3 separate regions of the Homo sapiens genome follow, and regions 2 and 3 are each linked to region 1. The links are contacts of gene promoters, found by promoter capture Hi-C in human tissues and cell types (Jung and others, 2019). All regions are on one chromosome and are shown on one strand. Each heading gives the region's core, a stretch centred on a gene start or on the middle of the fragment in contact. The rest is flanking DNA. Distances are from core to core; before and after follow the strand shown.

What was found. Contacts are between HindIII fragments. The study calls those that stand out against the background at their distance.
Region 2: the fragment with the promoter of GPX1 here is called in contact with the fragment with the promoter of PRKAR2A in region 1 in 1 of the 25 tissues and cell types used here (bladder).
Region 3: a fragment that was not itself captured here is called in contact with the fragment with the promoter of PRKAR2A in region 1 in 3 of the 25 tissues and cell types used here (aorta, bladder and dorsolateral prefrontal cortex).

The regions. Positions count from the first base shown.
Region 1 is chr3:48,846,149-48,849,636 of GRCh38, forward strand. It overlaps PRKAR2A (protein kinase cAMP-dependent type II regulatory subunit alpha), which reads right to left and starts at 1,726. Exons shown (of 11, transcript NM_004157.4): 1 at 1,187-1,726. The coding sequence starts at 1,448. PRKAR2A-AS1 (PRKAR2A antisense RNA 1) reads left to right here and starts at 1,789. Exons shown (of 3, transcript NR_109997.1): 1 at 1,789-1,877; 2 at 1,957-2,260; 3 at 2,839-3,488. RefSeq lists a silencer at 1,539-1,868. The HindIII fragment of the contact is 13,078 bases long and covers 1-3,488 here.
Region 2 is chr3:49,356,806-49,360,293 of GRCh38, forward strand. It overlaps GPX1 (glutathione peroxidase 1), which reads right to left and starts at 1,548. Exons shown (of 2, transcript NM_000581.4): 1 at 1,222-1,548; 2 at 371-942. The coding sequence starts at 1,473. The coding sequence ends at 583. RHOA (ras homolog family member A) reads right to left here. Exons shown (of 5, transcript NM_001664.4): 5 at 2,340-3,488. The coding sequence ends at 3,404. RefSeq lists enhancers at 1,224-1,832, 1,741-2,070, 1,833-2,441 and a silencer at 1,521-1,580. The HindIII fragment of the contact is 32,276 bases long and covers 1-3,488 here.
Region 3 is chr3:48,457,624-48,460,537 of GRCh38, forward strand. ATRIP (ATR interacting protein) reads left to right here. Exons shown (of 13, transcript NM_130384.3): 6 at 1,736-1,831; 7 at 2,164-2,293; 8 at 2,487-2,914. ATRIP-TREX1 (ATRIP-TREX1 readthrough) reads left to right here. Exons shown (of 15, transcript NR_153405.1): 6 at 1,736-1,831; 7 at 2,164-2,293; 8 at 2,487-2,914. Among named protein-coding and RNA genes, the nearest start is that of TREX1, 7.1 kb to the right of the region's middle. The HindIII fragment of the contact is 6,156 bases long and covers 1-2,914 here.

The sequences.
Region 1 (3,488 bases), core at 476-2,975:
TGGGATCCTTTCCTTTAAAGCTACAACCCACCCACTAAACAAGAATATAGTTACTGGGTTTTTCCTTTTTCTTTTTTTTTTTTTTTGAGACGGAGTTCGCTCTGTCGCCCAGGCTGGAGTGCAGTGGCATGATCTTGGCTCACTGCAACCTCCGCCTCCCAGGTTCAAGCGATTCTCCCTGCCTCAGCCTCCCAAGTAGCTGGGACTACAGACGCCCGCCACCACGCCCGGCTAATTTTTGTATTTTTAGTAGAGACGGGGTTTCGCCATGTTGGCCAGGCTGGTCTCGAACTCCTGACCTCAGGTGATCCACCCGCCTCGGCCTCCCAAAGTGCTGGGACTACAGGCGTGACCCACCACGCCCGGCCAGGTTTTTCGTTTTCAAAAATGAGGTAGGGTGTCTATTTTGCCCAGGCTGGTCTCGAACTCTTGGATTCAAGCGATATTTCCTCCTCAGCCTCCAGAGTAGCTGGTATAGACTATAGGGGCCCACTGCCCCGGCCGGCAAGATAATTATTTACTCTCACCAAATTTGATTCAATCGTTTTGGCCAAGTTTTTAAAAATAGGAATATTCCCAGGGACCATGTTTGAAGAAATACAAACTCAAGTAAGCAGAGGTGAAATGACCTGAGAGATTTGCTTTAATACACTTCGGCAAAGAAAGAAAAAAGGTATGGATGAAACTTTGTGACAAACGCAACTGTTAAATGTAGGTGATGGCATATAGGGATTCATCTCACCTTTCCTCTTTTGTCTATGCTTAAAAGTTTTCACAGTAACTTTTCAAAAAAAATTATTATTTCCAAACAAACTTACTGTCCTATCAATTAAACACAAGTCACTGGATGAGAACGCTGTTGTCTTCGAAGCCAAAACTGGTGAAGGGTCTTAAGCAAAGGCGAGGGATCCTCTAGCAGGGCCGACAGCGCGCACGTTTCCTTCAAGGCTGGATCTGACAAATCACTCGGTGCGCTCTAGGGCTCGCAGGATCGCGGAGCTCAATTTGGAAGTGGCGCACGCGGGCTCACGCCGGTGTCTCAGGGAAACGCTAGAAACGCGGCTACAGAGCTCCCAATCCCAGCCTGCGGTCGGCTTGGCTGCGGCGCGACACCTGGCTCCCTGCCACCCCTCTAGACCTCTGGAGACCTCCTGCACCACTCCCCAGGGCCCCGCCCACAGCCTACCTTCCAAGTCCTCGTCCTCCTCCGACTCGCTGTCCCCTTTGGCGTCGGCGACACGGTCCGGGCCGGGTTCTGGCGGGGGGTGGCCCAGGCTCTGGCGTGGGGTGGCGGCGGGCAGGACTGAGGCTGGGGCGCGGGCCTCGCGCAGGCGGGTGAAGTACTCCACTGCGAATTCGACGAGGTCAGGCGGCTGCTGTCGCAGCACCTCCACCGTGTAGCCCTGCAGCAGCTCCGTGAGCCCCGGCGGGATCTGGATGTGGCTCATGCCGGCGGCGGCCGAAGGGATAGACGGGTTGGGCCGCCGGCGGCCACTGTCTCCGCGCTCACTCACGCCGGCCTTTCGCTCCGCGCCCGCGAGGTCTCTTCGCGCACGGCCCCGGCTCACGTCGCGCCGCTCTTTGGCCGGCTCTGCGTTTCCGGGCCGCGCAACCCTACGCTACCACGGCCGACCTGGCACCGCCGCCGCTGTCACTGGGCAGCCGCCGCCGCCGCGGGGACCGACGGGCAGGCGAGCTGGACGGGCGGGGCAGGCGTCCTGGTTGTGACGCACGCCACCGCGGGCGTGCGCGTCCCCGCTTAGCACCGGCCCTCAGTGCGCTTGCGCCACTAGATGACCCGCCCCCTCGGGCTGTCGGGGGGTCGAGACAGTGGAGTGTTCCTGATGCCAGCTCACGGAGGGAATCCAGGGAATTAGGTAATGAACGGTCTACCCATGAAGGGGACCGATTAGTGCCTCTCGCCTGGTCCTGAAGACCTTTAAATTATTCTTTCAGCTGATGCCAAGAGCCTCTTTTTGGCCAGCACTTACTAAGCACCAGAGACACAGCGAGAAGCAGAAGCATACGAGCACATCAGTGTGATTCTGCTGTGATGAAGGGCAAGAGAGGGCTCACTTTCCGGCGTGACATTCAAGCTAGCCCCGAGGCCTGAGCAGGACCCGCCCAGGGGAAGATCTGGAGGAAAGCCATCTGAACATACAACAAGAGCAAAGGCCTGGTGGAGTCAAGACCACCTTGGCTGCCAGGTGGAATGGTGGAATAACTCAGGAGTCTGTCAGGTCTCTGAGATGTCAAACGGGTAAGGCCTTGTAGGAAGTAGGCGTTTGAATGAGATCATAATTTGAGAGCCACAGACAGAAAAATAAATTTGAAAGAGTTCACTCAGCCAAATGTGTACAGTGAGAAAGGGAAATAAGGCCAAAAGCAGCAAAGACCTCTGTGCCTGTTCCTCCTGGAGCACTTTCACCAGGGTCCCCAGATCTAGGTCTGCCCATTCCTCTCCCCACATTCTACACTGGGCCCTAGGTCAACACTGCTTGATGAAGTTGAGCAGACCACAGGCATTGTTATCCTTTGCCCCTGGGAAGATGGTATAGGTGAACTGTAGAGGCCAGACTATTTCCCAAATTGCCCTCCTCCTCCTACCAAACTGGAAGGGTATTGAAAAAGGTGGAGACCTTCCTGGGATGTCCAGTCTACAGCCTACGTGCTAACCAAAGGCCCACTGGGCATAGAGCAGAGTCCCCCTCTCCTTACAGGCCTAGCCAGGAAGAGAGTAGCTGTAGGTTTGGGAACCTGAGGGCATTTGGGATGCTTAAACACCGCCTGGTAATTACTCAGTATTAATTAAAATCCTCCCTATCACCTCCCATACAGGCTTGGCACACACCCAGGAGCTCAATGCTGCTGGGAGCTGAGCAGCTGGGAGCAAGGAGCCCTCATCCCCACTGATGAAGAGGCCAGCCCAGGTTCTAGGCTAAGCAGGCCTGTGATTATAAACAGCAGTGTCTCCCTGGACAAGTTTCTTGACCCTGAGAAGAATGTTAGACCATCAACTTTGTGAGGGGACAGGCAGTCTCCAACTTTTTTCCTGCTCAGTCCTTATTGCATACTCTTGGAGAAGGTCTACTGACTTGTTCTCAGATGCCCCACGGCTCAGCCAACCACCCATCCAGCAGAGCATTCAAAAGGCATCTGGAAGGAATGAGGGCGACCGTTCTGCCAGGCCCCTATTTTTTTTTGAGAGGAGTCTCACTCTGTCGCCCAGGCTGGAGTGCAATGGCATGACCTCTGCTCACTGCAAGCTCTGCCTCCCAGGTTCAAGCGATTCTCCTGTCTCAGCCTCCCAAGTAGCTGGTACTACAGGCGTGCACCACCACACCCAGCAAATTTTTTCTATTTTTAGTAGAGATGGGGTTTCTCCATGTTGGCCAGGATGGTCTCAATCTCTTGACCTCGTGATCCACCCGCCTCAGCCTCCCAAAGTGCTGGGATTACAGGCGTGAGCCACCGCACCTGGCTTTTTT
Region 2 (3,488 bases), core at 298-2,797, 510 kb after region 1:
GTTAGAAAAAGTATCGCCAGGCCGGGTGCGGTGGCTCATACCTGTAATCCCAGCACTTTGGGAGGCCGAGGCGGGTGGATCACGAGGTCAGGAGATCGATACCATCCTGGCTAACACGGTGAAACCCTGTCTCTACTAAAAATACAAAAAATTAGCCGGGCGTGGTGGCAGGCACCTGTAGTCCCAGCTACTCAGGAGGTTGAGGCAGGAGAATGGCGTGAACCCGGGAGGCGGAGCTTGCAGTGAGCCTAGATTGCGCCACTGCACTCCAGCCTGGGCAATAGAGCAAAAAACTCCGTCTCAAAAAAAAAAAAAAAAAAAGAAAAGAAAAAGAATTCCCAAATGACAATGACACAGGACATACACACAGTTCTGCTGACACCCGGCACTTTATTAGTGGGGAAACTCGCCTTGGTCTGGCAGAGACTGGGATCAACAGGACCAGCACCCATCTCGAGGTGGTATTTTCTGTAAGATCAGGTGTTCCTCCCTCGTAGGTTTAGAGGAAACACCCTCATAGATGAAAACCCCCCCGAGACAGCAGCACTGCAACTGCCAAGCAGCCGGGGTAGGAGGGGCGCCCTAGGCACAGCTGGGCCCTTGAGACAGCAGGGCTTCGATGTCAGGCTCGATGTCAATGGTCTGGAAGCGGCGGCTGTACCTGCGTAGGGGCACACCGTCAGGGCCCACCAGGAACTTCTCAAAGTTCCAGGCAACATCGTTGCGACACACCGGAGACCAGGTGATGAGCTTGGGGTCGGTCATAAGCGCGGTGGCGTCGTCGCTGGGAGCTGGCAGGGCCTCCCGCAGGAAGGCGAAGAGAGGGTGCGCCCCCGCACCGTTCACCTCGCACTTCTCGAAGAGCATGAAGTTGGGCTCGAACCCACCACCAGGCCGGACGTACTTGAGGGAATTCAGAATCTCTTCGTTCTTGGCGTTCTCCTACAGGAGAGAAGGGCAGCTAGAACCCGGGGTCAAGAGGAGGAGAGAAACGTTCTAACCACAAACAAGGGAGATTTTCTATGAGTCACCGGGATTTTGCCCTCCATGCGCAATCCCAAGGGCGGAGAGGAATTTCAGCAGCTACGAGCAACAGAAAGGAAACGAGAGAGTAGCCAGACTCTCCGCGCATGGAGCCGACGGCACCCACCAGCACACCGCCGGCGCCCCCAGCCACTACTGCACGTCCGCCCCCGCCCCGCCCCGCTCCGCCCGGCGCACCTGATGCCCAAACTGGTTGCACGGGAAGCCGAGCACCACCAGGCCCCGGGGTCCGAGGCGCCGCTGCAGCTCGTTCATCTGGGTGTAGTCCCGGACCGTGGTGCCTCAGAGGGACGCCACATTCTCGATAAGTAGTACCTTGCCCCGCAGGGAGCCCAGGCTCACAGGCTCCCCGCCGGCCAGCGGGCGCGCCGAGAAGGCATACACCGACTGGGCCGCCGCCGCCGCCGCCGCTAGCCGAGCAGCACACATGGCGCAATTGTCCAAGAAGCCAGCGGAGCGCCCCGAACAAGCACTGTAAGGGGAGGCCAGCAGGCGCCTCCTTTTAACTGGCCGGCGGCGGGTCACGTGGCACAGGCAGTTTTCCGGGCCTGAGGGTCCCGCCTCATCCGGCCCCCGCCCTACCCGGAGGGCTCGGCCCCTCCTCAGCCAGGAAAAGGCTGGAGAGTGCGCCCGAGCGGGACGCGTGCTCCTCCTAAGCCGGAAGGAGCAGCAGGCATGTCTGGTCTGGCCCAGGCAACCAGGCGGCAGCGGTCCAGGTTACCCTTCCAAGGGCTGGGGCCCTCGAGGGCTCCGTTTTTTCTCAGAGGTTCCTGAGTTAGGATGTGGGGTTTGGCATAGGAGGCTGGTGGGCGACGGCAGCAGCTGCAGGAGCTGCCCGTGCACAAACAGCCCTCCTCTCCTGTGCCATGTTACCGGCAGTGCAGGGGACAGCCAGAGGGATCTAGGCTTCCGGTCTCCCTCCTCCCTGTCTCCAAAGCGGCACCGCCCTCGTGCGGGTTTTCTAACCGGGCAGAGTCCTGGAAGCTCTGCCCCAGCCTCCTTAAGTGGAGCCCAGTAGCTCGCCGAGGCCAAGGAAACGCTGCCGGAGTCCTCCCTCCCTGGCCTCCTCAGGCTGCATTCACCCTACCCCCAAATCTGAACCAGAATGCGGTACAGGGTAATCATTTCCATGTTGTTGGGAGGGACCAGATTAGCTGCTGGGTGGGTGGGAGGTGGGGCACAAGCTAGTCCTTTGCACTCAACAAACCTCTCCAGGGTGAGCTAGGCCAGGAAGTCCTTGCATCCTCCTACCCCCAGCCCTGGAGAGAGCAACACAAACAACAGGATACAGGAAGTTTAGAAAACTGCCTTTATTCTATTAGTAGTTGGAAAAATTAACTGGTACAGAAAAAAAGTTTAGTCAGCTGGAGAGAAGAGAGACTGAGTGCCACCCATGAGAACTGGTGGCTCCTCTGGGAGGGAACCTGGATACAGTGAGGAGAAAAGAGCACTGTGAATTAGAGCCAGATGCTTAAGTCCAGGTGAGACAGGTTATGCCATCTTCCAAAGTGTCTAATTGCCTCAGGCGTGAAACCAATTCCTATTTACTTAGCCCAGCTCCATGGGGTACTGAGATACATGGGGCCGAAAAGGGGTAATATGGCCATCTTTTATCAGAAAAAGTGACAAAACGGGAATTTAAAAAATGAATTTTCCATCTGACTTTATTTCCAAATACACTTTCTTTTTTAAAAAACCAATACACTTTCTTTGAGGATGACAGTATTAGGAAATCCAATTATACAAAAAATACTACATCTAGTCTGGGGTAGATATATTTATTTTTGGTAACATACATTAAGTGGCACTAATTACACAGTAACTATAAGGTAACTAACATGAAACCACAGAACTGTAACTCTGCCACAGCTGCATGAACTTGGGCTTTTCTGGTTGAGCCCATTTTCAAAAAACTGCCCACCCCAGAGCTATGCCAACAAAATCTGTTACGGAGTAAAGCCCTGAAGTGGTGACTCACCAGAGTACCTTGCAGCTGACAGATAATAGGCAGGACATGTTAGTTATAAAGTAGTTACAGCCTAATTCACAAAAGTTACCAACTGTTTCTCTTTCTAGAAAGAAGCAAGAAGTTAAGAAATTCCTTGAATTAGCGCCTGGTGTGTCAGGTGGGAGTGCAGAGGAGGGCTGTTAGAGCAGTGTCAAAAGGACCCTGGTGGGCCAGACGGGTTGGACATCGTTAATAATCATAGTTGGCTTCTAAATACTGGTAGCAAGATGACTTCTGATTTGTAATCTTAGGTAAATTATAGATAAATGAAAAAGGCCAGTAATCATACACTAAGATTAATAAACAGCACTTCAAAATTAACCGCATAAGGGCTGTGCTTGCAGCAAGGTTTCACAAGACAAGGCACCCAGATTTTTTCTTCCCACGTCTAGCTTGCAGAGCAGCTCTCGTAGCCATTTCAAAAACCTCTCTCACT
Region 3 (2,914 bases), core at 276-2,775, 390 kb before region 1:
TAATTTCTTGCCACATGGGCCTCTGCACATGGATATGGGGTATCCTCTTAACCTGGTGGGTGGCTTCCTCTAAAGCTAGCAAATCCAGAGAGAGCGAGCCAGGCAGAAGCTATCCATTTATGGCCTAGCCTCAGAAGTCACACAGCATCCCCTCTGCCACATTGTATTTGTTAGAAGCAAATCACTGAGTCTGGGCGTCATTCAAGGGGAGAAACCAAGCTTATACCTTTTTTTTAATTTTTATTTTTTATTTTTATTTTATTATTATACTTTAAATTTTAGGGTACATGTGCACAACGTGCAGGTGTGTTACGTATGTATACATGTGCCATGTTGGTGTGTTGCACCCATTAACTCGTCATTTAGCATTAGGTATATCTCCTAATGCTATCCCTCCCCCCTCCTCCCAAGCTTATACCTTTTGAAGGGGAGTTGTGTCAAAGCATTTGTGGGCCTTTTTTTTTTTTTTTTTGAGGCGGAGTCTCACCCTGTCACCCAGGCTGGAGTGCAATGGCACGATCTCAGCTCACTGCAACTTCCGCCTCCCGGGTTCAAGTGATTCTCCTGCCTCAGACTCCCGAATAGCTGGGATTACAGGCACCTGCCATCATGCTTGTGGGCATATTTTTAAACCATCACAGCATCAATTGACCATGCCAAAAACCTAGCTAGTATGCAGGAATCTGTTTTTCTTTTCTTGTTTTTTTTTTTTTTCTTTGAGGCGGAGTCTCACTCTGTCACCAGGCTGGAGTGCAGTGGCGTGATCTCGGCTCACTGTAACCTCTGCCTCCCATGTTCAAGCGATTCTCCTGCCTCAGCCTCCCGAGTAGCTGGGACTACAGGCATGCGCCACCACACCCAGCTAATTTTTGTATTTTTAGTAGAGACAGGTTTCACCATGTTGGCCTGGATGGTCTCAATCTCATGACCTCGTGATCCACCCACTTCAGCCTCCCAAAATGCTGGGATTACAGGCATGAGCCACCGTGCCCAGCCTCTGTTTTCCTTTTGTAGTCCAGCTTTTGAGTTTTTATAACTCAGTCCAGATTGAGGGGATCTGCTGTTTTTTAGAGAGAGACAATCTAACATCAGTAGGTTTTCAGACTGCTATGTCAGTGTATCTTATAAATCGGATACATTGACCCTCTTCTTACCATCAACCTTTCAAATCCTTGGCCATCATAACACTTCTGAGAAACTGTAGCCCACTTACATTTTTGGCATCTAGCAGCTAAAGGGGCAGTGTACAGTAGTGTTACAAGCAGGCAGTAGAGCCCAGTAGCCTGGATGTGAGTCCCAGTAATGCTGTTAACTGGCTTATATGATTTGGGCAAGTCCTTTAGTCTCTGTGCCTCAGTTTCCCTATATGTAAAACAGACCTAATGATAAATCCTTGTAGGGTCACTGAGGAACAAATGGGCTGATGCGTATAGAGCTCTTAAAACACTGTCTAGCACGTAACAAGCACCATGTCAATGTTAGTGGTCACTGTTTTATCTAATTGCCTCATTTTGAGTGAGGCAAACAGCTTGATTTTCTTTTCCTTTCCTTGTATGAGTTCCTGTTTTACATAAGGAAGGTAAAAGATGCAGGGCTCTTGAGCCGCTTTGGCTCTTGTTTGTTCCAAGTTCGAAGAAGTAGAACAGCGTGTGTTTTAAACTCATTGCATGTAAAAGTTTCTAATATGCCCATGCTTCTGGGCTCAAGTTTTGATTTACATTTTATCACATTTCAGATAGTAAGCCCCACAGTCTGAGAGGTGACTCCATAAAACAAGAAGAGGCCCAGAAAAGCTTTGTTGACAGCTGGAGACAGAGATCAAACACTCAAGGTACCAGAATCCCTGCTTCTCCTGCAGGGGCCTGCATGGCTCTGAGTAATATGCAGAAGAATTGCCCAGGCCTCTGAGAACCGGTGCCCCGGGCAGTCCTTCAGAGAGTCCAGGGAAGTCAAAGTATGTGGCTTAAGCAGAAGACTTTATAAAGTGGAAAGGGCCAAGGGCAGGTATGTCCCAGAGCCTTCCGCACCCACAGGCATCTTCCTGGGGCTTAGTGGCAGCCTAGAGGACAGTTGGCATCCAAAGAATCCTTACTGTTTCCTTCTGAAAGCCACCGAAAAGATCTCCCATGTCAGAACCTTCTAGAGTCATCTTGTCTTCTGCAGGTTCCATTTTGATAAACCTGCTCCTGAAGCAGCCTTTGATCCCAGGGTCATCCCTAAGCCTTTGCCACCTCCTGAGTAGTAGTTCTGAGTCTCCTGCTGGCACCCCCCTGCAGCCACCAGGGTTTGGCAGGTAAGCATAAGACTCCTGGAAAGCTTGTTTGGGAAGGAGCTTCCTGGAAGCAAATTCCTTTCTGGCCCTGGCCAGCCTGAGAAGTCTGTGGGAAGGGCAGGCAGCCTGGAGAATTTGGCAGGCAGGCTGTTTGGGGCTCTTGACCTTATCTCCATCCCACACTTAATCTATTTTTCTTTGTGTTTGTTGCCAGTACCTTGGCTGGAATGTCAGGCCTCAGGACCACAGGTTCTTATGATGGGTCATTTTCCCTCTCAGCCCTGAGAGAAGCACAGAACCTGGCATTCACTGGACTGAATCTGGTTGCCCGGAATGAGTGCTCACGTGATGGAGACCCAGCAGAGGGAGGCAGAAGGGCCTTCCCACTCTGCCAGCTTCCTGGAGCCGTGCATTTCCTCCCCCTTGTACAGTTCTTCATCGGCTTACACTGCCAGGCCCTGCAGGACTTGGCAGCTGCTAAGAGAAGCGGAGCACCTGGGGACTCACCGACACATTCCTCCTGCGTGAGCTCTGGGGTAGAGACCAACCCTGAGGACTCAGTGTGCATCCTGGAAGGCTTCTCTGTGACTGCACTTAGCATTCTTCAGCACCTGGTGTGCCACAGCGGAGCAGTCGTCTCCC